Regions from separate parts of the Homo sapiens genome. Here regions 1, 2, 4, 5 and 6 are each linked to region 3. The links are contacts of gene promoters, found by promoter capture Hi-C in blood cells and fetal thymus (Javierre and others, 2016). All regions are on one chromosome and are shown on one strand. Each heading gives the region's core, a stretch centred on a gene start or on the middle of the fragment in contact. The rest is flanking DNA. Distances are from core to core; before and after follow the strand shown.

The links. Contacts are between HindIII fragments. The CHiCAGO score rates a contact against its expected background, and 5 or more counts as called.
Region 1: a fragment that was not itself captured here is called in contact with the fragment with the promoter of SYNE1-AS1 in region 3 in 1 of 17 cell types (neutrophils); the score reaches 10.8 in neutrophils.
Region 2: a contact is called between a fragment that was not itself captured here and the fragment with the promoter of SYNE1-AS1 in region 3, in 1 of 17 cell types (neutrophils). The highest score is 9.7, in neutrophils.
Region 4: a contact is called between a fragment that was not itself captured here and the fragment with the promoter of SYNE1-AS1 in region 3, in 1 of 17 cell types (neutrophils). The highest score is 8.5, in neutrophils.
Region 5: a fragment that was not itself captured here is called in contact with the fragment with the promoter of SYNE1-AS1 in region 3 in 1 of 17 cell types (neutrophils); the score reaches 9.3 in neutrophils.
Region 6: a fragment that was not itself captured here is called in contact with the fragment with the promoter of SYNE1-AS1 in region 3 in 1 of 17 cell types (neutrophils); the score reaches 11.0 in neutrophils.

What each region holds. Positions count from the first base shown.
Region 1 is chr6:152,203,269-152,207,869 of GRCh38, forward strand. It overlaps SYNE1 (spectrin repeat containing nuclear envelope protein 1), which reads right to left. Exons shown (of 146, transcript NM_182961.4): 126 at 2,900-3,094. Among named protein-coding and RNA genes, the nearest start is that of SYNE1-AS1, 170 kb to the right of the region's middle. The HindIII fragment of the contact is 6,190 bases long and covers 1-4,601 here.
Region 2 is chr6:152,245,254-152,250,064 of GRCh38, forward strand. SYNE1 (spectrin repeat containing nuclear envelope protein 1) reads right to left here. Exons shown (of 146, transcript NM_182961.4): 105 at 3,908-4,009. Among named protein-coding and RNA genes, the nearest start is that of SYNE1-AS1, 130 kb to the right of the region's middle. The HindIII fragment of the contact is 4,394 bases long and covers 1-3,522 here.
Region 3 is chr6:152,378,649-152,383,103 of GRCh38, forward strand. SYNE1-AS1 (SYNE1 antisense RNA 1) reads left to right here and starts at 1,882. Exons shown (of 2, transcript NR_120501.1): 1 at 1,882-1,945; 2 at 2,412-3,065. SYNE1 (spectrin repeat containing nuclear envelope protein 1) reads right to left here. Exons shown (of 146, transcript NM_182961.4): 56 at 2,358-2,714. The HindIII fragment of the contact is 6,155 bases long and covers 1,479-4,455 here.
Region 4 is chr6:152,221,287-152,225,873 of GRCh38, forward strand. It overlaps SYNE1 (spectrin repeat containing nuclear envelope protein 1), which reads right to left. Exons shown (of 146, transcript NM_182961.4): 116 at 4,435-4,587; 117 at 3,208-3,378; 118 at 140-273. Among named protein-coding and RNA genes, the nearest start is that of SYNE1-AS1, 160 kb to the right of the region's middle. RefSeq lists an enhancer at 1-1,050. The HindIII fragment of the contact is 917 bases long and covers 1,512-2,428 here.
Region 5 is chr6:152,156,541-152,160,737 of GRCh38, forward strand. All of the region lies in intron 131 of SYNE1 (spectrin repeat containing nuclear envelope protein 1), which reads right to left. Among named protein-coding and RNA genes, the nearest start is that of SYNE1-AS1, 220 kb to the right of the region's middle. RefSeq lists an enhancer at 3,838-4,027 and a silencer at 4,098-4,147. The HindIII fragment of the contact is 6,175 bases long and covers 1-4,197 here.
Region 6 is chr6:152,134,718-152,139,156 of GRCh38, forward strand. It overlaps SYNE1 (spectrin repeat containing nuclear envelope protein 1), which reads right to left. Exons shown (of 146, transcript NM_182961.4): 141 at 1,901-2,101; 142 at 387-515. Among named protein-coding and RNA genes, the nearest start is that of SYNE1-AS1, 240 kb to the right of the region's middle. The HindIII fragment of the contact is 9,888 bases long and covers 1-4,439 here.

The sequences.
Region 1 (4,601 bases), core at 459-2,958, 180 kb before region 3:
AAAATGACAGGAACCACAGCAGAGCTTGATCTTTTTTATAGCACCTTATCTACACATTAACTCCTATCCGGTGTCTTAGTGCCAGTGAAAATTAATTTCAACTAAACAAGTCTCCTTCATGTTGTCCAACACTGCCCGTTTGTCAAACTCTCCAATCCAGGCCTTCCTGCTCCCCACTCATCTCCCCAGTGGCCACTCCATACACCGTGAATTACAGAATTCCAAAGCAAGACAACTAGAATCATGACTAGAATCACTTTTAGTTGTCAATATGGTGTCAAATCATGTTCCATCTTCCTTCACAATATCTCTTCCATTATCATCAGTCTTTTCTTATCTGGATTATTTCTACTTCTCTCCTGACACCTTAGTTTGAGCATAACAACCCAGAGGTGTTATTACCACAACTATTTTCTGGAAGCAGTGTTGACTAAAGTGCCCCCTTACTCAAAATGTCTTTATTCAAAAACTGAACTGAGAATTTGGCACAAGTCTCATTTCTCTTTAAAATTCCTTCATAGAACTTCTTAGAGTGCATAACCACATTCCCTCTTCCCAATTACCAGAAAAAAAAATTCTTAAAAAACAAAAAAAAATTGTCTATCAGGGACAGAGTTGTTCAAATTCTCCTTTGTTTTATGCTTTGTGTTCCCAGGGCTACAATTAGCTTATCAATGCTAACCATAGTGAGGGTAGACAAAAAGTTTCTCTTTCTGCTTAAATTAAACAACATTCTCAATAAAACTATCAAACATCCTGAATTGATCAACATACAGTTGATAAAAATTTATTGATCTAAAAGAGATAAGATCATCACGGGTGCTGTGACCCACACCTATAATCCTAGCACTTTGGGAGGCCAAGGAAGGGCAGATCACTTGAAGCCAGGAGTTCGAGACCAGCCTGGCCAACATGGTGAAAACCCATCTCTACTAAAAATACAAAAATTAGCCAGGCGTGGTGGCGTGCACCTGTAATCCCACCTACTTGAGAGGCTGATGCACGAGAATCACTTGAACCCAGAAGAGTGGAGGTTGCAATTAGCCAAGACTGCACCACAGCACTCCAGCCTGGGTGACACAGGGAGACTCTATGTCAAAAAAAAAAAAAAGAAAAAAAAACAAGAAAGAAAGATAAAAAAGATCAGCTTCTTACTTTTCAGAACAAAATTAAGAGATGATAGTGAAGAAGGTGAACATACAGAGCATGGAATTATAATGCCTATATTTGGCATACTTACTAACAGTATTAAAAGCTAAATATAGATAAGTATTATAGCTGGGGTAAAAAATAGACTAAAATGAGGCTATATAAACATCAAAATTCAGATTCATAAATTCCTTCTTAGGCAAACGGATGTAGTGTAAAAGTCAAAATAAAATAAACTTTAACAAGAACAGAAGAGGGATTCCTCTTTCCAAGGATGACTTAGATTCTAAATCTATAACCAAGTCCTTTTATGACGTGAATTATAAGGAAATAACTTAATGTCATGAGCCTGCAAATATCTATTAAAGTGGATGTTTTCTACACCAACAAACAGACAGACAAGAAAAGCAAATGTAGTGACTCAGACATCATGCCTTATTAAGTCTTGGAAACATCTCCAAAAATCACATCACAAATTTAAAAAAATATATGATTAACATGTTCTCTACAGGATGAGTTACAATGTTTTAAATCCTTTCCTAAAAGCAAAAGGAAGAAAATGAACCTGGCATATTACATTACTGATGAAACTGTGCTGTGTGCAAATAATAGTTTTTTATAGATGTCCAGTGGCATTTTTGATGGATTGCTTACTACACAGAAGGCAATATATTATTAAATAAAATTCAATAGAATAAATCCAATGGGTATGTATGCACACTTTAAGCATTAAAAAAAAAAAGCAAAATCTTTTCTATTAACCTTAGTCATTACCTTTGATCCAAACATGTGACAGGCCAAATTTAATAGATACCCTCACTGAAGTGTTGGTGATTATCAACATATACAGGACCATAACATTTAGGTGTCTTTACTTTTAAAGATTGTAATAACATCAACTATGATAATCACTATCATTCATTTAGCGCTCAGTATGAGCCAGGTAAGGTACCACATGATTCACTATCATTATTTCATTAAGTCCTCACAATGGCCACATGGAGGTGGTGAAATTATATACCCACTCTACCGATGAGGAAACTGAGGCTTAGATAGGCTAAGTTAACTGGGTCACTTGGTTTACCATGATTTTAACTTGAGATTATCTTATTTTAGAGGTCCTGTCCTTTTTAAACTGCTCATTTAATTATGCATTATACATGCAATTGAAGAGTGAGAGAGAAAAGCATATTGTGGGAGGTCCGGATAAATCTACATTTTCCAAAACTTACTGTGTGATCAGTATGTGATCTGTATCCAACTAAGGGCTTAATACACCTCCTGGAGATTTTATCTCATGGCAACTTGCTTGGATCAGCTAAGATAAATTAAGAGTATCTTTCTGGATTGGTTTTTCCCTTCCATAAAAGAAGAGATACCAATCTTGAAAACCACTTTAGAGTCTCAGATTAGGGAGTGGAACCTACCCTTTGAATTTCTGTGTGGATTTATAAAGTCATCACATGGCTAAGGTTTCATACTGGTCATTAATCAGAATTCATAGCTTAGACAGTCTTATTAGACTTTACTTTGTTGGGAGGTTGTCCTGAAAAATTAAATGCTGAAAATTGGGAAACTTTTCCAGTTTGTGCAAGATAAGACAAAGTCTTAAATAAAACACAGAGAATCAAAATACTGCAGGGTATTATTTCATGATCTTTGCATTATTTGATTTGTAGAATAACAATGGGAGGAAGTAGTACAACGACTAAAAGGGTTTTTTGGTTCGTTTTTTTCTAACTGAACTTACTTTCAACAAGAAGGCTAGTTTTTTCTTCTGTTCTTCCAGCCGCATGCTGGCTGATTTCCATTTCTCTTGGATTTCAGCGAGTTCGGCCTGCAAGGCGGCCTCAGCGCCACTGTCCGCCGAGAGAAGGAGTTGCTTGCCAGCCTCCACAGTCAGGATGTAGCTGCCTTGTTGCCGCAGAAACACTTTTTCTTTGAACTGAAAGGAACCATAGCTTTTTATTTTCTCATTCTTTCTTTCATCGTTTCCTTCCCATAAGGATTTTTAAATGGCCCTAACTTTTGCCCTCTTTCATCCAGCAAGCATTTACCGTAGTGGTGCTTTGCACATGCATGCACCAGTGAATAAATGAGTGAGAATACAATGGAGACAGGCTTAGTTTCTGTCTCCAAGGTAAGTACGATTGATGTAATAAGATAACCACTCTTTAAGATTGATGCGTGGAAATACAGAGGGACATCTGACCCAGCAGGGGGCGCACCAAGAGGCAGAGAGGCTTCCTCAAAGCAGTAAAGGCTGAATGTGTCTTGCGAGACATGAACTTCACCAGATTAAGAAGGACCTGGTGCGGTGAGATGAGTGTGATCAGGAGTGGAGGAGAGGCCACCTTCTCACAGAGAAATGAGGATGCGCACATTCACTATATGAGAAAAATATGATAAATTCAGGAAACTAAGTATGGTTTTCAGTGGCTGGAGTGTGGATGGCATGTGAGAGAGTGGTAGGAGATGAGGCCAGACGACATCTTGCAGAAATTTGGTTTTTATACTAAAAGTGACTGGGGTTCACAGAAGAATATTGATGTTGGGATTAAAGTTTTCATAAAAGCACTCAGGAATCGAGTAAAAGTAGAATGGAAGAAGGATGTGTGTTGGATATACTAAGATTAGGAAGCTATTGTCTATCTGGGCAAGAAATCGCGAGCACCTAACCAAGGCAGTGGCAGCAGGGATGTAGAGTTAGGGAGATTAGATAAGGGGATGATAGACAAGGAGAAGTATAGCTCTCAAATTATTCTAGGATTCCTAGACTAATGGCACTTCCTGGAAGTGTGATGGGAAAGGGAGAAAAGTTGGTCCAGAGACCACAGGTTCTGCTGGGACCCACAGGGTACAAGGCATCTGTGATGCACATAGACATAAACTCACAAGGTGGTTAGAAACACAAGTCAAAAGCACAGCAGGTAAATATGACCAGAAGATATGAATATGCCCCTTCTCTGCTGGCAGGGGGCAGTTGAAGTCATGTCTGCGAATGAGGGCTCTCAGAGAAATTTGGAGGAGAAACGAACGAAAGAACAGTGACTTTAAGGGAAGAGGAACTCATTGGATACACTGGGGAGAACTCACTAGAGTGATAGGAGATATCTCTCTAAGATGCTAGAAGCCTGAAGGTAAGGGGCAACCTGGAAATGAACAAAGAACTCAAACAGGACAGGGCTTCCTGTCTTCTTTGGAATACTCAAGTTACGTGTTTAAATTGCTCAAGAATAAAATGTATGCAAGCAACATGAAGTTTTTCTTCCCTTGCCATTACCTTTTCATCCCTGCTGGGATTTAGTGAGCTGCGGCAGGCCATAGTGTGTGAAGTGTAAGCAGCCTTTGTGAGAGGCTGGGGCTTACTATCATTTCACCATTAGATATGGGCTTTGTATTGCAATCATTTTGTATATTTCTGTTGACATTTGAGAACAATGTTTGTCCCA
Region 2 (4,811 bases), core at 76-2,575, 130 kb before region 3:
GATGGTCTGGTTAGGAAGCCAGAGTAAACAGAGAAAAATAAAGCAAGGCTGAATATAAGTAAGTACTATACTCGATAATGCAACTCATCCCCATTAGCAGAGATCAGAGAAGGGAGATACCAGACCACAAATCCTGGAGCAGCCTAAGCAGGCGTTTGGAAAGAGGGCAACAGAGGTTGCCCCTGAAGGAGGACAAAAACAAGACTCCAGATGGCAGCTGAAACACATGTGTCCAATGTTCTCTTTCCTGAAAACCCCCTACAGTCAGAGTGAGTATTTTGTTTGCTTGTTCTCTGGCATATTTTTTCCCCATAAATCTAAAAGGACAAGGGAACAGAAAAGAAAACAATGCCAACAATATGTTGGGAGCTAGAAGTCAAAAGAATACATGATAATTGACTTAGGAAATCTGGGGAAGCTGAATTCTAAACCAGTGGAGGATCTCCACCACCCACTTCAGAGCAACAGAAATCTCTGGAACTCTGGGTGAAGTAAGCTGGGGTGCTAAGTAAGGAGGGTTAGTGAAGAGCTGCTTAAAGGACAGTTAACCCACAGATGCCCCTCCTTATTCCATACTGTCCCTTTTTCTTCCCGGGTAAAAGACTGAAAGTGTGTTCTCTGGAGAAGGTAAAACAGACAGAGGGGCACTGGACACAGCTGTGAGCTTGAGTGCTTGACTGAAAGCAAGGGATGAAATAACTGGATGCTCCCTGCATGCTGAATGTGGGGCCCCTGAGTCTTCTCTCCCTGGGGCAAGAAGTGCTGCAGTCAGGGCTCTAGTCTCCAGAGATGAGAGGGAAAAATATCTGAACACACCAATAAGACAGGCCTGACAATTTGACAGAAGGATTCTCTAACAAATAAATGGTCCATAGAGACCATCCTGCAGGAACTCTTAAAATTATCATGTTCCATCCACACACAGAGTTCCCTTTCAGCTGTTTAGTCCTCCATCCTAAACCTGAATAGGCAACAAAAGATTTCAATATGCCTTTCGATGACATGAAAGATGGGGACTAACAGAAGCAAACAAATAAAAGCAAGCTGGAGGAAAACAGATTATACAGGAAAAGTAGAACTTTAAACAACAAAAAAAAAACCATTAATATACCCAGAAAGATATAAACGATAATGTATTCATTAAAAAAAATAAAAAATACTACAAAAAGGATCATTCGGAGAACCAAAGTGAGCTCCGGGAAAATTAAATACGTGAGAGCAGAAATGCCAATTCAGTACAAGAGTCTGGAGTTGAAATTGAGGACGTTTCTCAAAAAGCGGAGCAAAAAGACAAAGAAAGGTCTCTTGGTAAGACAGTTCAAGGGTTGAACCCGAGTATCTGACAAAAAGGAGTTCTCCAGAAAAGAAGACAGGTAAAATGCAGGAAAGAAATGTATTAAATAAATCATTAGAAAATTTTCCAGAACAGAAAGATGAGAGCTGCCAAATCAGAAGAGTCCCTTGAGCTCCCAGCCCAGTGGATAAAAATAGATCCTCCCCAAGGCATGTGATTGTGAAATTTCAGGACACTGGAAACCTTTGGGAATTAGAATGTTTTTAGATTCCTTAAGACAACACTGAGAGCTAGAAAACAATGAAGAAAAAGCCTTGAAACTCCAAAAGAATTCATATTCAACAAATGACCCTGAAGGATCACATAAAAACAGCAAAGCGATCAATAAAGTGTGAACATGGTATAAGAACATTTTCAGACATACATCTGGAAAAATACACTTATCATGTACCCTTTCTAAGAAAGGACATGCACTAACGAAACAAGGAAGCAATGCAGTAAAGAGAAAGACTTGGGATTCAGAAGAGAGAAGATCCAACATAGGAAGAAATGAAGGGATTCTCAGGATGGTGGTGAAGGGAAATCCAAGAAGACAACTGTGCACCAGGTTTATGAGGCAAGAGAACTGCTCTGGATTGGAACAGCACAACTCAAGAGATGACTATATTGAGTGAGGTGTGTCTTCCCCATGCCCTCTGCTGTTATTGCCTTTTTAATCCAAGTTGGGTAGGCATGGAATTAGCACGTTCATTAGTTGCATTCCATTTATTCAAAGAAAAAAATCTAACTGGTTATTTCTTCATCTGTGACATTCAGTTATATTGGTCAAAAATTAGTAAAAATTATTACTTGTGATCATACATATCTCATAATTCATATTAGAAATCCAAAGCAAGACATCACTACAGTTGCTCCAGTCTTTTTTGGAATCACACATACATTATAAGCCAAGAAAAAAAACAAAAAGATTTTTCATGGGGAGAAATGAGAAATCTCTTTAAAAAGCAGATGAAATTATGGTCAAGAAAAATGCACAGCCGGATGCGGTGGCTCACACCGGTAATCCCAACACTTTGGGAGGCTGAGATGGGAGAACTGCTTGAGCCCAGGAGTTCAAGACCAGACCAGCCTGGGCAACAAAGTGAGACCCTATCTCCATATTAAAATATATATTTTTTATTATATATATATATATATATATATACACACACACACACACACACACACACACACATATATTTTTAAAAATAAATAAAAAGAAAAATGCACACTCACAGTTTTGCAAACTATTTTGAGAGGTGTTCTTTAACACACACACACACACACACACACACACACACACATATTATATGTCAGATTATTCTCTATCGTCTATCCATAGATTCCCGGGAAGTTCGCTGAAATTAAATCAGAGAATTCTATTAAAACACATACTTCTCACAATTACTTAGCTTATGAAACAGGAGATATTCTAACATCCCTCCCATTTCTTCTATCTGCATTTTCATGCCATCATGCCAGTTTGGGTTCTCATTCTTTCTCTCCAGTACAGCTACATGAAGCCTCATGATGGATCTCCTGTTTCCTGACCCTGGTGCTGTCATGTAAACTAACCAGAAGCAAGATCTAGAACTGCCATTCATTTTTACCTGCAAACATCCCCTACAACTTTCCATGGCCAGGGATCTCCCAGCTGAGTCTAAACACCCAAGAGTGTGCAAGATGATTTACCAGGATGAAACACCACATCTTTCATTTATATTCAACCACATTAATTTTCAATTTTGGTTGTAGCATGTACACAAACAAAAATTGAAAATAAATTTGGCTGAATTTAATTGTGATTTATAACATAAATTGCTTATAATTTATAAATAAATAAAAATACATACACTTATGCTGCATATTTATTTCCTTTTTTTTTTAGCTAATGAGGCATGCAACAAATAAAGTGTACAGGTAACTAGTTTATAGAATAAAGTCCAAAGTCACACATTCAACAGGCCCTACAAACTGCCTTAAATTTACATATCCAATCTTGTTTGTCCTCAGTCACTTTCATTTATCTTAAATTCAGCTAAAATAGAATTACCTGTGTTTTTCCCTAAGTGCTCAGAATTCTCTAACAATTTGTGCCTTTTTTCTTGCTGTCCTCTTTACCGTGATATCTTTCTTTCCTGTTGTTGTGTGTCCAAACTCTTAGGTTCAGTTCAAATTTCCCTCTACAAAGCTTCCCTAATCCTACCCCTGCTGGAGGCCAGAAGGGTCTGAGTACCCATAATGCTTTGTCAGTACCACTCCCAGGACAGTTTGACTTTCTGCCCTATGTCATTGAGGTTCATATCTAATCTCATCATTGGGCAGAAAACTCCTTCAGGTCAGCATCTGCCATGGATACCTTTTCCCAGCTCACATTTCCTAGTTCTGTGCAGATGTAAGTAACAGAGTCAATGTCACCTGGTATGTTATTCAAACCCAGTACTCAAAAACAAAAATACTACAAACAAAAGTGCCACTGTGAGCCATTAATCTTTCATAGAATATTCAAAATTTCATAGTAAGTCATATCTCCTCTATGCATTTTCTCTTCTAGGAAAAGGCAGCTATAAATACCTCTATTTGTTCTGCTACGGGCTGTTCAAACACATTTGCCAGTTTTTGCAGAATGATGTATTTGTTGTCAGCCAGTGATGTAAACAGCACTTTCAGATCATTCTAAGGAGGAAAGCAACGGGAAAACTCAAAATGTGTAACAGGGAATTCAAAATACTTGTAAATATAACACAGATTCTAAGAAATAACATAGAGGCACAGAAATTTAATTTCCAGGAGAAACAATACTGTGCTATGGGAAGGTAAAAGGAACTGGTAACAATTTACTTATGTGCTAAAACTGACTCCTGAAGAATCTGTTACCCAAAGTATTTTCTACATAACACAAATGAAGTTGAACCATACATGTAAAAAGCAACGCTTGTCACCCTAATCTCATTACATCCGAAATAAATGAGCACAGTCAAACATTGCACAGAAATATTATATTAGTGGCTCTTATCTAGGGAAATAACCTATAGGTGTTATCCTGATTTGGGAAATAATATGATACTTAAGAATCATATGATTTCCATTTTGCTCTCTCCTCTTCTTCCCTCCCTCCATCAGTTTCTTCTTCTATTTTTGGAAAATTTGCACAAGCTTTAAAAAAGCCATCCAGAAGTTTAGAAAATAAATATTATCCATGATGGCCAAAAACATGTGAAGAGACAACACAAAAAGATCTTGTTAGGTATTTTGTTCAAAAATATTACTCATTTAAATGTCCAAATATATTTATATTGAGTTAGATTTGTATAAAAAGGAGACAACTATCAGAACTTTGGTACTTAATTCCACAGGGAATAATAAATTAGAAGAATATTTAAATTATAAAAAATTTTGGCCAGGTGCAGTGGTTCATCTCTGTAATACCAGAATTTTGGGTGCCTGAGGCAGATCACTTGAGGCCAGGAGTTCAAGA
Region 3 (4,455 bases), core at 632-3,131:
GCATCTTGATGCTGTTCCTCTACCTCACCTGTCAGGTCACATTTTAATTATACCTCAAGACTCAACTCAAATAACAACTCCTTTAAGTACCCCCTGCCCTCCTTCCCACCTCTTCGGGTTTCTCATCTGAGGATACACAGGACCTTGCAGACATTCATCACAAGGAGTATCCACATTGGCTTTATGCTTGCGTATCTCCCCACCTAGGCTGTGATTATGAGAGCAGGAATGACATTCTCTTGGTTTGTCAATTCTTTATTTAACTCGGTGTCTGGGCTGGAGGAGTCTAAGACATTTTTATTTACAAAAATTCATCAACAACTAAACAATTTCTCTCTGAAATTCCAAACACTAAACTAGGACCAACTATTTTACACCATATGGAACCTTTTACTTAAGACAGAACATTGTAAGAACTAAAGAAACTTAGCATTCAACAAAAACATAAAAATACTGGAGATTCAAGTCAGTTACTTATGAATGGGATGACATTAAAAGTGAAAAGTTTTTGACCAAAACGTTACATTTAAAACATTTCTATAACTTCATCCTAAAGTATGTCAGTAGAGTCAATATATAAATATCAGCTTATGTATTTCTGATTCTGTTAAGTTCTAGAATGCATCTTTCCACCTTATACAGCTTAAGAAAATTATTTCCAAAGCTAATATCCCAAAGGATATTAAGATAAATGAGTTTCGCAAACATAGTAAATAGAATTATTTTTACAATATTATATTATATACTTTATAGATCATCTGTTTTTATGTTTTAAAGAATTTCTTGAGTATTGTCATCTAATTGCATAAAATAAATACTTTAATTCTTATTGTGATCATCAACAATGACAAGTCCTCCCTAAAAGCAAAACAATGCCCTAAGAACCCTAGCATATTTACTATTTTGTTAACATTTTCTTACATATTCATTGTGATAGAAATATCTCCACTTTTAGATAAAATGCCATTATTAGAAATAAAAGAAAACATGAATATTGAGAAGCAATGTAGCATTGTCATCAAAAGCATTGACCCTGGAGTCAAATCTGGAAGCAGACATACACAGAGGGCTGTCACATTTGAACTATTTAACACAACTGAAAACCCATATTTACTACTGCATTCTCATGTATATTTTTATAGGCCTCAACCATTATTTTTACTAATAATATCAACGTAAAAATAATGAACAGAATAGTAATGTAATCTAGGCACAGCCAAATCTTTCCTTTTTAAAAATTTCACTCTGTGACTGGAATAGAAAGAAAGGGAAAGAAAAAGGAACCAAGAAAGTGTAACTGATTTTTTCATATTATACCATGTAGAGCAATTATCAACTTCTTTGTCCCTCTGTGACAGAACTGATTTCTATGCTTTATTCTGGTACATAAATCTAAAGGACAGGAAATGGAACAGAATAACAAAAACAAACCCCCAAACCTAGAATCATTATAAATAGAGTAGCATAAAGAGGTAGAAAGCTTTATTTTATGGCATGCTGCATTTGTTTCAAATACTTGATTTAAAACCAGACACTGCTGGAAATACTACATGACTTTCTTACTGGCAGGAGCTATTTTGAAATGATTGTAATATAAATAGGAGCAGAGAAGTTTACTAAATTTCCTTTTAAGGACATCCATGAATCAGGGCATTATAAAACTGGAAATATTGAAAAGGCTTTCAAAGATACTGTTTAACAGTGAAAGAAACGAAGAAGAGGTTACACTCTTGCTCATTCTTCGGTCTCCCTTGTAGGCTTCCCTTTCTCACATTCTAAAGAAGCTGCCATTAGCTTCAAAAAAAAAAAAAAAGTCTCGGGAAGGTGACCAGGGAGGGTGACGTAGAGTTCTGTTAACAGGCTAATTCAAGAACAGCTGTCAAAACCACACAGAGGAGAGCTAATCGGGGAGATAACTATTTGCTGTGCTGTAGGAGATTACCAAGTGAGTCTTTTAAGGCTATAAATTCAATCATTTAGTTGTATGAAATAGTTAACTGGCAAGAAAACAGCTATGACTCTCTGTCTATTTATGCCCCTGCCCACAGGCCATTTTTCAGACTGAATGGCTGAATACAGTATTACAGACTCTTACACCATAGGAATGAAAGTAAAATGTCTCCACTAACAACAAATGTTTCCTACCGCAAATAATAACCCAAATCTTTATTTTTACAAAAGTTTGATATATAAGAAAAGGAAACAAATCAGACTTTGCTTATTTAATGAGATAAATACTTCTTCCAAGTGTGCATGTTGCGTGTTTTTAGTTAGCAAGATTTTTTTTTTAAGGAATGATGAAAGTCAAAACATTTTTTAAAGCATAACCACCAATAGAAAACAGGAAGCCAACTTACTTGTCCTTTGTGCCAGCATTCCACTATCTCCTCATCCGTGTTCTTGCCTTCCAGGAGGGTTAACTGCTGAGCCCAGGTTTTCAGAAGGGCACTGAACTGTTCCAGGGCCTGCTCCAGTTGAGCCACTTGGCCTGAGAATTCCTGCTCCGAAAGGGCCATCTGGCTGACCAGGTTCTCCAAACAGCTCTGCGTTTGGAATACACTGTCTTCCCACTGCTTCCAGTCGGCACGCAGGGCCTGCATCTCCGTGTGCATGAGCTCACACCCACTGGCAGTTGTGTTCTGTTTCACTTCGGGAGCCAGCGACTCCACTCTGCTGAGACGGCTTGCACCAATCTCTCTGGAATCTATCAGCTCCTGTAATGGAATATCACCATGGTAACTGAAGAGCCTGTGAGTCACTTGGACTGCAAGTTTTCAACTGTGTACACAGGGGGACCCTGTCCTGCCAGGAAGTTTTAACAAGTGTGCCACAAGGACCCAGAATCAATTCATCTGTCCACTCTTAAATTATAATAGCGGGAGTTGTCATCACGAGTGCCTAAGGCTTATGGCAAAAAAATCCCGAGAATCCTCAATATCCTGAAACAGACTAAACAGAGACCCTGAAATCAGGCATTATTCGCACACGTGAAAATGTTTAGTGACTCAAGTGTTTGCCTGTGGTGGATTGCTCCTGTGAATGATTAAACCCATATTTCCCTCAAAGTGGATGCTCAAGTAAATAAAGATCGTGGCAGAACTGTGTTCTGCTCACGGTCTCTATACTCAATTCATCTTCTTCAACAGGGTGGTGGCTTAAATCACACTTCCATTCTACTAGGAATCAAGCAGACTCATCACAGCAAAAGAATGAGCCCTACTCGATTCCAAATACCTCAATACTAAGTAAACATTTTTGTAGCATATAAAATGAATAATTCATTCATAGACTGACTTACTCAAAAGTTTAAAGTAACCTCTAGACTGAGTACATTTATTAGTATTTTTTTACCTTAAAAAAGTCACTAGAAATTTAACAGTTTAGCTATAGCCAAGTTAACAATTTAGCTCGATCTTAAAGCACACAAATACTGTAAAGGAAAACAAGATAAAATTAAATCACATTGTTAAATTGATATAATTGCAGCATTTCTGAGAATAGATTCTCTTACTAAAATTTTTCTTGGTGAAATAATCATCCGATGTTTATATATTTACATATCTATTGCTAAAGGCAGGATTTTGTTAATATTATTACAAAATTATGACTTTACTACCGGATTAAATAGAAATAAAAGATAATCAGGCACAAAAATGTTCAAGAAGAAAATCAATGACCAATTAGCAAGTAAAGAAACATTGGAATGTTAAGTATGAAGCATGCTTAATAAATTATGTTAAGCATAAAGTATGTCTTAACTAGTCTATATAATATAGTTTGCATCTCATTAAATTAACTTGAAATAAATATATCTGTTCATAATTATATACAATAGAGCCATATTTTAATATAGATCATTTGAAAGTATTTAGTATTCAGTTGTGCAGTAGTCTAAATTACAATGACATGAAAACCCTTACACACAGCATGATATGTATATTCAACCTTCTCAGCAGCAGGATTCTAAAAACCATCACTGTTTATTAGTGTGTATAGTAGTTATTTGATGAAGAAAAAAATCTAACTTTTTAACCAGTGCTATGTCTAACTAATAGACCTTAATACTTGTAATTATTTTGCCTTTGTGAGCAATTTCAAATTTGAAGTTTCCCAAAATACTCTCTTATGCTTTATCCCAATTTTCCTTAGCATGAAAATGGAACACTTCAATATTTGCAATCAGAAATCTAGTCATTCAGAATTTGAATAAGGACATCATCATTGTCAAGAGTTTTGAAATGGCTTTTGCATATATTTTCTTATCTTGTATTTACATTTTTAAACATATGATATACACATACACACATATGTACATTCCCGCCCTCACACCCATATACATTTTGCTTTAGAGTTGCCTTTTCTCAGTGATTATTCCTGTGGATGTGATAGGTATGGTGTTGAAGGACAGAGGAGGTGCTTTATGTATTTCCTCCAAGGTTTTTAAAACCACCCACA
Region 4 (4,587 bases), core at 720-3,219, 160 kb before region 3:
TTAAATTCATGTTGTGAAAGAGAAGTTTAAAGGAATAGAATCTATATAGCTCAAATTCAAACTGTCATTGTTTTAATTATATCATTATTTATAATAAGGCTGTGATATAAATAGTGTGTAAAGTTAACATACTCCATACCTCATGTTGACTTCTTTCAGTGTATTGGTAAGAGTTTCTGTCACGGGTGGGTGACACTCTTTTAATAATTGGTTGGTGATAGAGCCAAATTTCTGTAAGCTCCTTTCCTGTTTTTCCAGATCATCTTGGAGATTCTGCCCCAAAAAAAAGACCCATAGATGACATAACAGGATCTAAATTCTAATAAGCAAGTTTAAAAGGAATTTGTATATGTTTTCATAAATATGTACATATACTTGTATAAACCAGGCATGACTTAGCACCAATGCTTTATCAGCTTTCTTTAGATAATCATTTATTCTCTTTTGTAGGATTTTGTTATTTTGGCTATGAGAAGAGGTTCTGAGCAATGAAGCCTTCTTCTATTGGCATTTGCATTCTGCTGAAAAACTCACATAGGGTGCCCTTGTCCATTGTCTGGTAGGAAGCTGCCAGAGATGGTAAATTCCTCTTCAAAGGGTTTAATTGTGTAATGTCCTTGTCCTTGGTTCAGAGGCCTCACCTCCTTGTACTTTCTTGTTTCTGGCCTGTGAGCAGCCCTCCTGCTCTTGTTGTGTCCTGACTTGCCCAGACATGTCCAAACTTGCCTTGTGCTGTAACACAGGGACCACTCCTACCCCTCCCTCCCTTGAGAATCACATATTTACCCTAATTGGAAAAGTTTAAGTCTTAGCCAACTGAGGTCAGTTTAGATTGAGTGGTCCAACCCTAGCCAACAGGGGAAGGATGCAGGGATAGGGACTGCGTTAGGGATAAAAACTCCTTCTCTCCTTTGTTCAGTGTGCTCTTGCAGCAGCCAGAAGTGTGAGTGGCACCCTCCTGCAGAAGTAAATTTGCCTTGCTGAGAAATCCTTTAAGTGCTCATTTTCCTTGCTACCCCAAGCTCTTGTTTCTAACAAAGCCATGGCAATGGTGTTATGTAACGTGCTATCTGCCAAACTGTGGATCTCTTTGACACTCAAAGCCAAAGCCAGGTCTCTATTTTGTTACATACCCGCAGTGCTTCTACCACAAACTCCCGAAGATGAAGACTCTAAGAAGGCACAGCTTTGCCAAGCTTTATCTCTGGGTGTTCTTCCTTGCCAAGAATTATTTTTAACTTAAAAAAATGATTTTCAATTGACAAATAATAATTGTATGTATTTGTAGGGTACTATATGATGTTTTGATATATGTTTACATTGTGGAATGAATAAATTAAGATAATTAACATATCATTACCTCACATACTTATCCATTTTTGTCTAGCAAAGTTGAACTCATAGAAGTAGAGAGTAGAATGGTAGTTACCAGGGCATGGGATAAGGGATTAGATGGGGAAAAGAAAGATGTTGATCAAAAGGAACATAGTTTCAGCTACACAGGAGGGATAAGCTTTAGTGATCCACCGTACAGAATGGAGACTATAATTAATAATAATGCACTGTATATGTCAAGATTGCTTAAAGCAAAGAATATTTATCAGACAGGTTTGGCATCTTCTACCAAGCCTATCTAAATAGTCTGCTACCAAGGACCAGTAAGGGAACTGAAAGAAAGTTGTTTCTCTGGAAATAGTGCTGAGGTGACAGACTCAGTTCTTCATAAAACTCCACAGGTGAAGTAGGCTACAAAAATCGAGTACTGTTTAACACCAATATCTGATTACCCTCAAATGAAAACAGTCAAGGAAAAGACCCTTAATCCTTTCATGTCTTAAGACAGCTCTTGCAAGTATTAAACATAACATATATTAAATTAAAAAGCATTTCTAACCTCCTCAAAGTTATAAGATGTGCTTTTAAATTTACTATCCTCAGAAGAAGTTTTCGTGATCCTTAGTAACGACAATTTAAGGGTTAAGAAATTATATAGACAAATTTGTCCTTCCTCTCTTCCACCCTACCCTAAAAAAAATATTTCCTTAAGAAAGTCGGCCGGGCATGGTGGCTCATGCCTGTAATCCCAGCACTTTGGGAGGCTGAGGCATGTGGATCATGAGGTCAGGAGTTCAAGACCAGCCTGGCCAAGATGGTGAAACTCCATCTCTACTAAAAATACAAAAATTAGCCAGGCATGGAGGCACATGCCGTAATCCCAGCTACTCAGGAGGCTGAGGCAGAGAATTGCTTAAACCCGGGAGGCGGAGGTTGCAGTGAGCCGAGATAGCACCACTGCACTCCAGTCTGGGCGACAGAGCGAGACTCTGTCTCAAAAAGGAAGGAGGGGAGGGGAGGGAAGGAGAGGGGAAGGGAGGGGAGAAGAGGGGAGGAGAGGAAGGCAGGCTGCATCTGAGGTCAGCAACATAGAAGCTTTGATTGGCTGGCCAGGGAGGCGGACTAGATATTAGCAGGGCACATGCTGGTCTCTTGTTGGCCTCCCATCCCTTAGGGGCCTGCCCTGCCCATCCCATAGTCTGTGTTCTTTAGCCAAGAAGAAAGAGCAGTGACAGGTGAGAGTGGCCCGGTGCACAGGAGAGTGGGGGCAGCAGGAATTTGAGGGCGGTGACCTGAGACAGGAGAGAGTGCTATGTTGAAGACAAACATCAGGGATATCATTTTACATGGACACAATGACAAAGGACCCACAGGAAACCAAGCAGTAAGTGCTAGAAAGGAAGATTCTGTGGACACGCTGGATAGGCCACTGATATTTTACTGAATGGAAGCAACTGAATGGTTTAAACATTTACCACTTTTGCCGTTTTTCTCTGTGTTTTCTTTTGAACATTCCTTAGAATATGTTTGGAGATGCAGATAAGAAGAGAAAAGGAAGACAAAAGGCAGTGACAATGAATCAAGGAGGTTCAGTTGGGCATAAAATCATTGTATAAAAGACGATGTGAATATTTTTTTACAACAGGATCTTGGAAACCATTTAGTTATATACCAGCTAATCCAGAATTTGGCACACACAGGCAAGTTTGCTCAAGTAACAATAACACAGGTAAAATTAATTTTAAAGATCTTAAAAAATAATTAAACGTAAACAACATATGGCAATATTTCAGGATGATGTCTCCATTTGGTAATTTTTCAGTTTTCTAAAATTAAAATGAACGTTAAGGATGTGTTAAATTAATTCCTTACCTGAAGATTGTCCACCTGAACTTGCACAGCTTCTAAGGAGCCAGTCAGCAGACGGAATCGGGAAAGAGAGTATCTGGCCTCCATGAGGTAACTGTTTATCTTGTCAAAGGCCACTTTGTGACTACTCCATTGGTCAAGCACTGATTTCAGCAGTATCTTTAATTGTCCAACCTTTTGAAAAAGACAAATATGGCTTATAATTTCATAATATCTAGAATGATGGAATATATATTCAATTGATGGGAAAATATTAACATCTAAGAACTTCATCAGGGTTTCAGGTATCATAAACAAACAAAACTAAAAAGAAAAAGATTTAAAAGGTAAAATGTATCAACTTTGAAATTTATGCCTTCCACACTTTAAACACTCAGTTCTAAGTGGAAATGCTTAAAAGGGTAACTGATAAATATATATATATATGTATATATATACATATATACATATGTATACACATATATATGTGTATATATATATACATATATGTATATATATTTTTAAGTTATAAGAGGTTGATACTTTTAATAAAACAGTTTAAGAATTGTATTAAATGAGTGTTTCAAATGCATTAACTCATTTAATCCTCACAACACCTTATGAGATAGGTATGATCATTATCCCCATTTTATAGATGAGGAAACTGAGACACTAAGAGGTAATGAAAATTACCCAAGATTATACTGCTAGAATGTGAGAAATTTCAATTTGAATACAGGTAGTCAGGTCCCAGAAAGTGAAATCTATCTATAGCTATAACAATATCCATATCTATCTCACATATGCGCAAACACACACACACACACACACACGCACACACACACACACACTCAGATAAATATCTTAAGACAAAACATCTAAGATATTCCTTCCTCATAATTATTTATCTCTGTCAGAAAAGTGTTTAGCTTGGTTTGCATCACTTAGATACAGATATCCACTTTGTATATCTTTTGCCAGGCTGGAGACAGATGTTTGAGAATGATCTATTGCCATGGGAATGGATGAGATCATTAAGAGAGTAATGTTTAAAATAAAGGCTTATTCTAGAAAACACCAGAAACTAGACTTTAAAAAAAAAAAAGAGGATAACGAAGTGGACTTAAAAGTACAAGGAGATAATGTATAGATTTGATTATTTCCTCTGCTACTTTAGGAAAACCAAAACCCAGAGTTTGGACAGAGCTGGCAAACACGGTCCTGGAGCTGGCTTTCTGTGAGCAATATTACCATGTGATCTAAATTTGCCCAGGTTTGGCCGAGCTCTCGCAGTGTGCTCATGACAATGCTAGAGACGTCTTCTTTCTTGTTCTGAATCAAAGCAAGTCCATTCTGCTCAATTTTCTCTACTTCTTTTTCTTTTGCTTTAATCAAATCTTCCAG
Region 5 (4,197 bases), core at 774-3,273, 220 kb before region 3:
GCATACCTCCTACACACATCCTTCCATACACTTTAAATCATCTTGAGATTACTTATAATACCTAATACAATGTAAATGCTATAGAAATTGTTCTTATACTGTATTGTTTAGGGAATCATGACAAGAATAAAAAGTCTGTATGTATTCAATACAGATGCAAATTGTTTTCCAAATACTTTTGATCTACGGTTGGTGGAATCCACCAGTGTAGAACCGTAGATACCAAGGGCCTGTATATATGCATGTGCTAGACCTGGCACTCAAGAACTGGGCTTTAAGATCCAAAGATTTACTTTTTTTTTTTTGGGATGGAGTCTCACTCTGTCACCCAGGCTGGAGAGCAATGGCACAATATCAGCTCATGGAAACTTCTGCCTCCCGAGTTCAAGTGATTTTCCTGCCTCAGCCTCCCAAGTAGCTGGGATTACAGGTACCCGCCATCATGCCTGGCTGGTTTTTGTATTTTTGTAGAGACAGGGTTTTACCATGTTGGCCAGGCTGGTCTTGAACTCCTGACCTCAGGTGATCCACCCACCTAGGCCTTCCAAAGTGCTGGGATTACAAGTGTGAGCCACCACGCCCAGCTGATTTGCATTCTTTTTTAAACAGTTAATTCCACCATCATTAAAAGGTAACATGGTTATCAATGGACGAACAAATAAAGAAAAAGTGGCATATATATACACAATGGAATATTATTCGGTCATAAAAAAATGAAATTATGTTGTTTGCAGCAACATGGATGGAACCGGAGGTCACTATGTTAAGTGAAATAAGCCAGGTACAAAAACACAAATATCACACATTCTCACTTGTATGTGGGAGCTAAAAAAGTTGATCTCATGGAGGTAGAGAGTAGAACGCCAGATAGCAGAGGCTGGGAAGAGTGTTTGGGGGCAATGAAGTGAGGTGTCAATAGACACAAACATACAGTTAGAGGGAATAAGTCTTAATGTTCGATAGAGTAGAATGACTATAGTTAACAACAATGTACTGCATATTTCAAAATAGCTAGAAGAGAGAAATTGAAACATTCCCAACACATAGAAATAATAAATACCAGAGGTGACGGACACCCCAAATACCCTGACTTGATCATTACACAGTTTATGCATGTAACAAAATATCATATGTGCCCCACAAAGATGTAGAAAGACTATTTAAGGGACCTAGGTTCTATATCATGCATGACATCAGCAGTTTCCTCAGAGAACAAATTCTTTTTTTTTTTTTTTTTAGATGGAGTCTCACTCTGTCGCCCAGGCTGGAGTGCAGTGGCATGATCTCAGATCACTGCAACCTCCTGCCTGATTCTCCTCCTCATTCTCCTGCCTCAGCCTCCTGAGTAGCTGGGATTACAGGCGCCCACCACCATGCCTGGCTAATTTTTGTGTTTTTAGTAGAGACGGGGTTTCCCCATGTTGGACAGGCTGGTCTGGAACTCCTGACCAGGTGATCCGCCCACCTCGGCCTCCCAAAGTGCTGGAATTACAGGTGTGAGCCACTGCGCCTGGCATAGAGCAACTTTTAATGTAGGGCAGAAGTAAAATGTTTTATGATAAAAACAAAGCATTGGATTTCCCTGGAGTCCCACAATGTGAAATCTTCATTTTAACTGTATAAAATGTAAATTCAAATTGTATGTTGTTTTCTCTATTGAACTTTTAACTCCATTTACTCCAAGTAAGTATTCCATTATTAAAAGTAAGCTCTACCAGTATCATTTTTTGTTTACTATATTCATCAATGTCCTTAATGTGTTTTCCTTTTCTTTTATCAGGAAGTTCTTGAATTTGCTTATTTTTTCTCTTGCTCTAAAAATTCCTCAATTTACGCAGATACCCGGGATTTATATTCTTGTGTTGCTCTTCCTCTTATTTTTTTCCTTGATGCCATGTTCCAACATCTATGCAAACACTAGCTATTGTCAAATGTCATAGTGCCTTTAATTAATTTTGGAGATTTTATAAACTAGACACTAGACGATAAATTTTACTAAAATATTTATATTTGTATAAACAGTCCTTTCAAATCTCTGACATAACCTCCTTCACTTACATGAAACAATATGTCACAGGAATTGCTGTTCTAAAAAATATAAAATGAAGTAATATAAAAATTAAACTTAGTATTTGCTTAAAGATAAATATAAAGACAAATAATTCTGTAAATGAGATTACCAAGTACATTTGAGGTCTTAAACTACATTTTGTGCAAGCATATACATTTGGAAGAAGTGTTAGGCCCCTGGACATAAACCATGCATTTAAGAAAGTTAGCATTTTTATTTCATTTTCCCTAAATACTCAAAAGTTTTTGTTAAAATCAATATATGAAATAGCAACCCTAAGATTTGAGGGGATTTATAATCATACATAAGTGCCCTAAGACAAAGTTTTAGGCTCAGCTTCAACTTTTTTTCTTTTTTTTGAGACGGAGTCTCGCTCTGTCTGCAGACTGGAGTGCAGTGGCACAATCTCGGCTCACTGCAACCTCCGCCTCCCAGGTTCAAGCGATTCTCCTGCCTCAGCCTCCTGAGTAGCTGGGACTACAGGCGCGCACCACCATGCCCAGCTAATTTTCGTATTTTTAGTAGGGACAGAATCATTCTTAAAAATTTTCCACAAGGGAAACTGTGGTAACTGTGACATGATTAAAATAAAATGTATCAAGCCCTGACTTTGTGTTAGGTAGGCACTGTGCTCAGTGCTTCTTCTTAGTAATTTGTATAATCACACTGTGTGGTGTGGACTCTGATGATTGGCGTTCTATAAATCAGGGCTCTAAGGGTTCAAATAGTTATGGCTTTGTCCCAGATCACATGGGAATGTAGTGAGGCCAAGATCTGAACCCAGAAAGTTTACTTTTAACCACTGGTGTACAGGACTTTTTAAAGTCTTAATTTAAAATTTAATTAAAAAGCTATATGTGCATATTTAATGTAGTAAAAAGTAAAAAACGACTAGCAGGTTCTGAAGAAAGCAGCATGTTTTCCACCCCGGAGTTCACCTGTTCAGGAGCAACCATTTCCATCTCTTGCAGCTCTTTCTTCTGGTATTACTTCTACCCTTTTTAATTTTTTGAGACAGGGTCTTGCTCTGTCACCCAGGCTGGAGTGCAGGGGTGTGATTATGGCTCACTGCAGCCTCAAATTCCTGGCCTCAAGTGATCCTTCTGCCTTGGCCTCTCGAAGTATTAGGATTACAGGGGTGAGCCGCCACATTCAACCTATTTCTATATTTCTCAGTAATATATAACTTCTCTATTTCTAAGTAACATAGCTACTGCTTGATTTGTCCATACTTTATGAATTCTTGTATAGTAGAGAAGAAATAAACTTCTACATGGCTGACTGAACTCTAATGACTGTTACAGTACAACTTAGAGCTAGGGTAATAATCACTGTTCTCATGATTATGGTTATTTAATATTTTTCACATTTGAGGAACAAAATATACTATGGTTATGTTTCTTTTCTTTTTTTTTAGACAGAGTCTCAGTCTGTCGCCAAGCTAGAGTACAGTGGCGCGATCTCCGCTCACTGCAACCTCCGACTCCCTGGTTCAAGCGATTCTCCTGCCTCAGCCTCCCGAGTAGCTGGGATTACAGGCAAGCACCACCATGCCCAGCTAAATTTTTGTATTTTTAGTAGAGACGGGGTTTCACCATGTTGGCCAGGATGGTCTCGATCTCCTGATAACTCATTTTCCTGGATTTTACAATCCTCTCTCTCTCTCTAATTTATAATGCTTGCTTCTATTATCTCTCTTATTGAACTAATAAAACTCCTTCCGGAGTGGTTAAGCCCATCAGATAATCTAGCCCCTCCTGGCTCCTCCTGGAAACATCCCTCCTAGAGCACCCAGAGCCCCTGCTCCCATCTGGACAGGTGCTGGCTTGGCTGCAGTACAGCTGTCATCAGGGACTTTCCTGCACCTTCACTCTGGGAATTCCCTTTTTCTTTCTCCTGAGTTGAATAGCATTTCCCCTCTTGCTTTAGTGCGTGTAGCATATGCAGCATATATAGCATAGTAGTACGTAGCCTGTGTAGCAAGTATGAAGTGTATTTTCCTCTCACTTTCATGTATGCAGCATACCTTTCATTAGCTTCCTGAAAATGGGTACATAGGAGGTAAAATTTGTAGATATTAAGTGGCAGGGTATAAAATTCTAAATTATAAAGAATTTTTCTCCGCT
Region 6 (4,439 bases), core at 472-2,971, 240 kb before region 3:
TTGTCTCATTCTATTCTAATATTTTAATGACCTTTTACTACAAGCCACCAAATATACTTTTGGGCCATAGATGTAACATGAAGTTTAAATTAAGCTGCCTTAATAAACAACACAAGCTAATTAAGATTGCTTGAGAACACTAAGATTTTTACAACTGAGCAACAACTTTAGAATCAGATTCTAAAGCTAGCAGATATCATCTTCTATGCACATGTTTGCTTTACAAAGATTGGAAACCACAGGGAGTTAAAAAAGTGTAAAGTAGAGACTATAATGCAAAAAGTTAAAAAAAAAGAAACAACACTTACCACTTATATTCATTTTCTGTAAATGAAATGCAACCCTGCTAAAAATAACTGGAGGCTGCCAGAGTTCACACATCTTACCATAAGCTGTTTGTGATGGTCCTGAAGTATCTCTGCATCAAGGTTAGAATCAATAGGGACAATTTCATTTTTCCTTCTGTCAATGTTCTCCAGCATAAGAAGCAAACCATGGCTCATTTCATGGAAACCCTACAGAAAACAGTTTAAAGTAACTGTAAATAAAATATTTTTATTTCTCTCAAAACTTAAATGTCTTTCAACTGCCACCATTAGCAAACATACTTGGTTTTAAGAACATACATGCAACTCCTTTCTGAGGAAGGCACTGGTGCTGTTGTAATGACCTGATCGTGAGTTCACGTTCTTACCAAAAGCATCTAATTTATTACTTGGAGGACAATTTAGACGAAAGGAAAACTGGCATCAACATACGTTATTTCTGAAAAAAGGGTAGTGCTATTATACAGTTTGGAAGGAAGCAACTCTGCTGCCCTCTCTTCTCTGTGTAGTCAAATCTTTCCATATTTTAAGGCCCACCTAGGCTGAATCTCATATCCCCTTCATTCATTCATTTATTCACTCATTCATTCATCCATTTATTTATTCAACATACAGTTACTAAAGATCTCCTACAGATAAGGCACTGTACTAGGAGTGGGTGCAGAGGTGAAACAGCAGTTTAGGTACCCGCTTTCAAGGAACTATTATATTACTCTTGGGGCACATATAAACCTGGAGAGCAGGCTTCAACTCCTTCCAGGGCTTTCCATGGCGCTCAGAATATGATCCAATCTCCTGGCCTGGACCTACAAAGCCATCTGGTTCCTGACCACCTCCTCAGTCTTTCTTCTCACTCCCTGGCTCAGCTCACCGACTACACTCTGGTCACAATGGCCTGTTTTCTGTTCCTAAAGACACTAAGTCCTTTCCTGCTTCTGGGACTTTCCATTTATTATATTACCTTCATAGCAACATCCTTCCAATGTTAGCTCAAAGAGCCAAATAAATTCCCTGACTACCCTCTCAAAGTGGCTTTTCTCAGTTACTTTTATCATCCACGTCTGCAAGTATCTGGTTTAACTATTTGCTTGCATTTTATTGATCTTGTCTTCCCCAACAAAAGCAGAGGCCATGCTGTATTCAATGTTTTAGCACCACGTCTGCCATATGGTGGACGCCCAGCAAGTAATTACAGTATGAATGGAAAAACAAATATTTGCAATGCTCACTTTGATGTTCAAGAAGGGTCTGCCTACTTGCCCAGTAAATATCTGTTGAATAAATAAAGGAAATAAATGAATGAGTCATAGAAGGAGCGTTGCGACGGAGATAAACATGAGGAATAGTCTCTTCTTATCTGGACAGAAGATAGGACCTAGAGATTTTGAACATGATCATGAACATGTAGAAATGCTCCAGTAAAATGAAAAGTTTGGGCACAAGGTTATCTCACTGAAATACTGACTTTGGGGAGCAACTGCGTCCCTCTAGAAACCATGATACATCAAGTCACACACTCAGCTAAATTGCTAATGTCTCTCTCTGAGTCACCTCCTGCCCAAAGCTCTACAGACCTGGCACTGCATCAGGGCATCCTGCAGCAGGCCCCGCCACTCCTCCAGCAGAGAGCACACTCGGTCCCAGCGCCCATTCATCTGCGACAAGCGATCCTGCAGGTCCCGGCTCTCCTTGCTGTCAGCCTGGGTGAACTCAGGGCTGCAGAGATTGATGGAGAGGATGATGGCTTTGCGGTGGTCCACAGCTTTCTGGAGCTCCTGAAAAGAACAAAAAAGACAATCAAACAAGGACAATAATGACAAAGATATTTTCCCTTGAAAATGTTTCACATGAATGAAAAGATCCATTAATTTAAACTGGCCTTAACAGGATGGCTAGGTAAAAGACAGAGGGTGCGTACCACTGAGAACTGTATGGCAGTTGGAAGAAATGAATTAGATGAGTACTTAACAACATGGATGAATCTTAAGAAAACAGGGTGTAGAGTGAAAACGTCAGAAACAGAATGTTACATGGAACACAACAGCCTCAATACATTCACACACACAAATCCACATTTTTAAAGAATATATCTGAACAAAGAAGGTCTGCCACATATTTCAGAATAGCTACCATTTTGAAAATCAAATGGGAACTTAGAGTTCAGCCAGGGTAGGGGGTGCAGGGGGGAGGAATAAAGAGGAGTCTTGTAGGAGGCAACAATAACGCTAGGCAATGACCTCATTAAGGAGTATGATTGAGTCCACACTCTGTACAGAGGTTCAACCACAACAAAATTCAAATTTGTGGGCCTAAAAATGAAGCAAAGAAAACAGATGCCAGGGCCCTGGGATCCAGATGTACTGAGTCTGCAGGCTCAGTGGCCCACAGGCTGAGAATACTGCCTGTGCCACACTGATGTGAAGGTAGAGAGAATGAATTGGGTATTTCATGAGCTAACCAGTTAGGTTTGATTTCACAAAAACCAGGTGACTGATTTTTGGCTTTGTGCATTTCCAAAACACCCAGTGCTCAATTCCAAGAACTTGAGCACAGGAGTCTGTATTAGTAATTGAGTATCTAGGTACTGTTTAAAATCCCCCAATCCAGTTAGGGTGAGAGATCCTGGAAGTCACATTGACCTAGGCTGCATTTTGAAATCATTTCTCACTAGCCCTGCAATGTTCCCAATCTGTCTTGATTTTGCACTTTTCAATAGGTTCTTAACATACTGTAGAATAGATTCAACCACACAGACAACATGGGTTTAAGAGACACTGTGGAAAATACTTGATTATTCCACAGATTTATTCAGAGAAAATACAGACAGGAAGCATCAGGAGAAAGTACAAAGGAGGATGTCTTTTTTCTTGTCATGCCGGATGACTTTCAAGGTCTTATTTCCCTACCCTAATCTCTCTGAGGTCTCAGACCCTGGCCAGCATTTGCTTCATCAACTTTTTAAGGAATCTGGTTATAATGCAACATGGCCTTACTAGAGTAATTTAGGGACTCTAGATAAAAATGCATTTCATAATGCAGCCATTGTAAATCTCTCTCACGTGGTACTTTGTCCTGAAATTCATGGGGTAGTGTAGAGGCCTTTCTATAGGGATGCACCTTTTGGATCACCTGGAGGGGAGATTCATTTCTCTTGTTTGAAGTTTTCTGTTTGAAAATTTAAAACAGACCAGGCGCAATGGCTCATGCTTGTAATCCCAGCAATTTGGGAGGCCGAGGCGGGCGGATCACTTGAGGTCAGGAATTCGAGACCAGCCTGGCCAACATGGCAAAACCCTGTCTCTACTAAAAATACAATAAATAGCCGGGCATGGTGGTGCATGCCTGTAGTCCCAGCTACTCAGGAGGCCGAGGCAGGAGAAACGCTTGAACACAGGAGACGGAGGTTACAGTGAGCCAAGATCGCACCACTGCACTCTAGCCTGGGTGATAGAGTGAGACTCTGTCTCAAAAATAAATAAATAAATAAATAAATAAATAAATAAATAAATAAATAAAATAAAACAAAATCACACAATCACTAAAAGCAAGCCAAAAAACATCAACCCCAAATAAAAAGCATATACTAAAACCACAGAAACACAAAAGCAGCACACACTTCATTCCTTATCCTGACCCCGGAGAGCCTAGGTGGCCACATTTTGAGGAGGAGCACATCTTAATACTGTCCAAACAGGAAAAAACAAGCACTGATGGGTTTTAAAAAGAAACTGAGCTCTCAGTTCATGAGATGCTCACAATAGTCTCCATATATTAAAGCATTTTAGTGTCTGGGTTAAGGAGGATTTTAAGATCTAGAGCTGGAGTTAAGGTGTACTATATCCATGCGGGCCAAGCCAAAATCAAACGCAAATGCCAGGTGTTTCACCACAATTACTCTATAGTTTTATTTATTACAGCAAAAATTGCTTCTACCACTACTGTAATCAATTTCAGAAGTTTCACTTACTTGAGGTCAAATAACTTCATTATGTCCCCCACAAATTCATGCAGATACAATTTTGGAGAGGATTTCTCTCCAGCTCTAGATATAGGCCTGTAGGAGCCAGGTCATTCTGTATTTCCCTTACAAAGAGTTCTTGTAGGTCCCAGAAG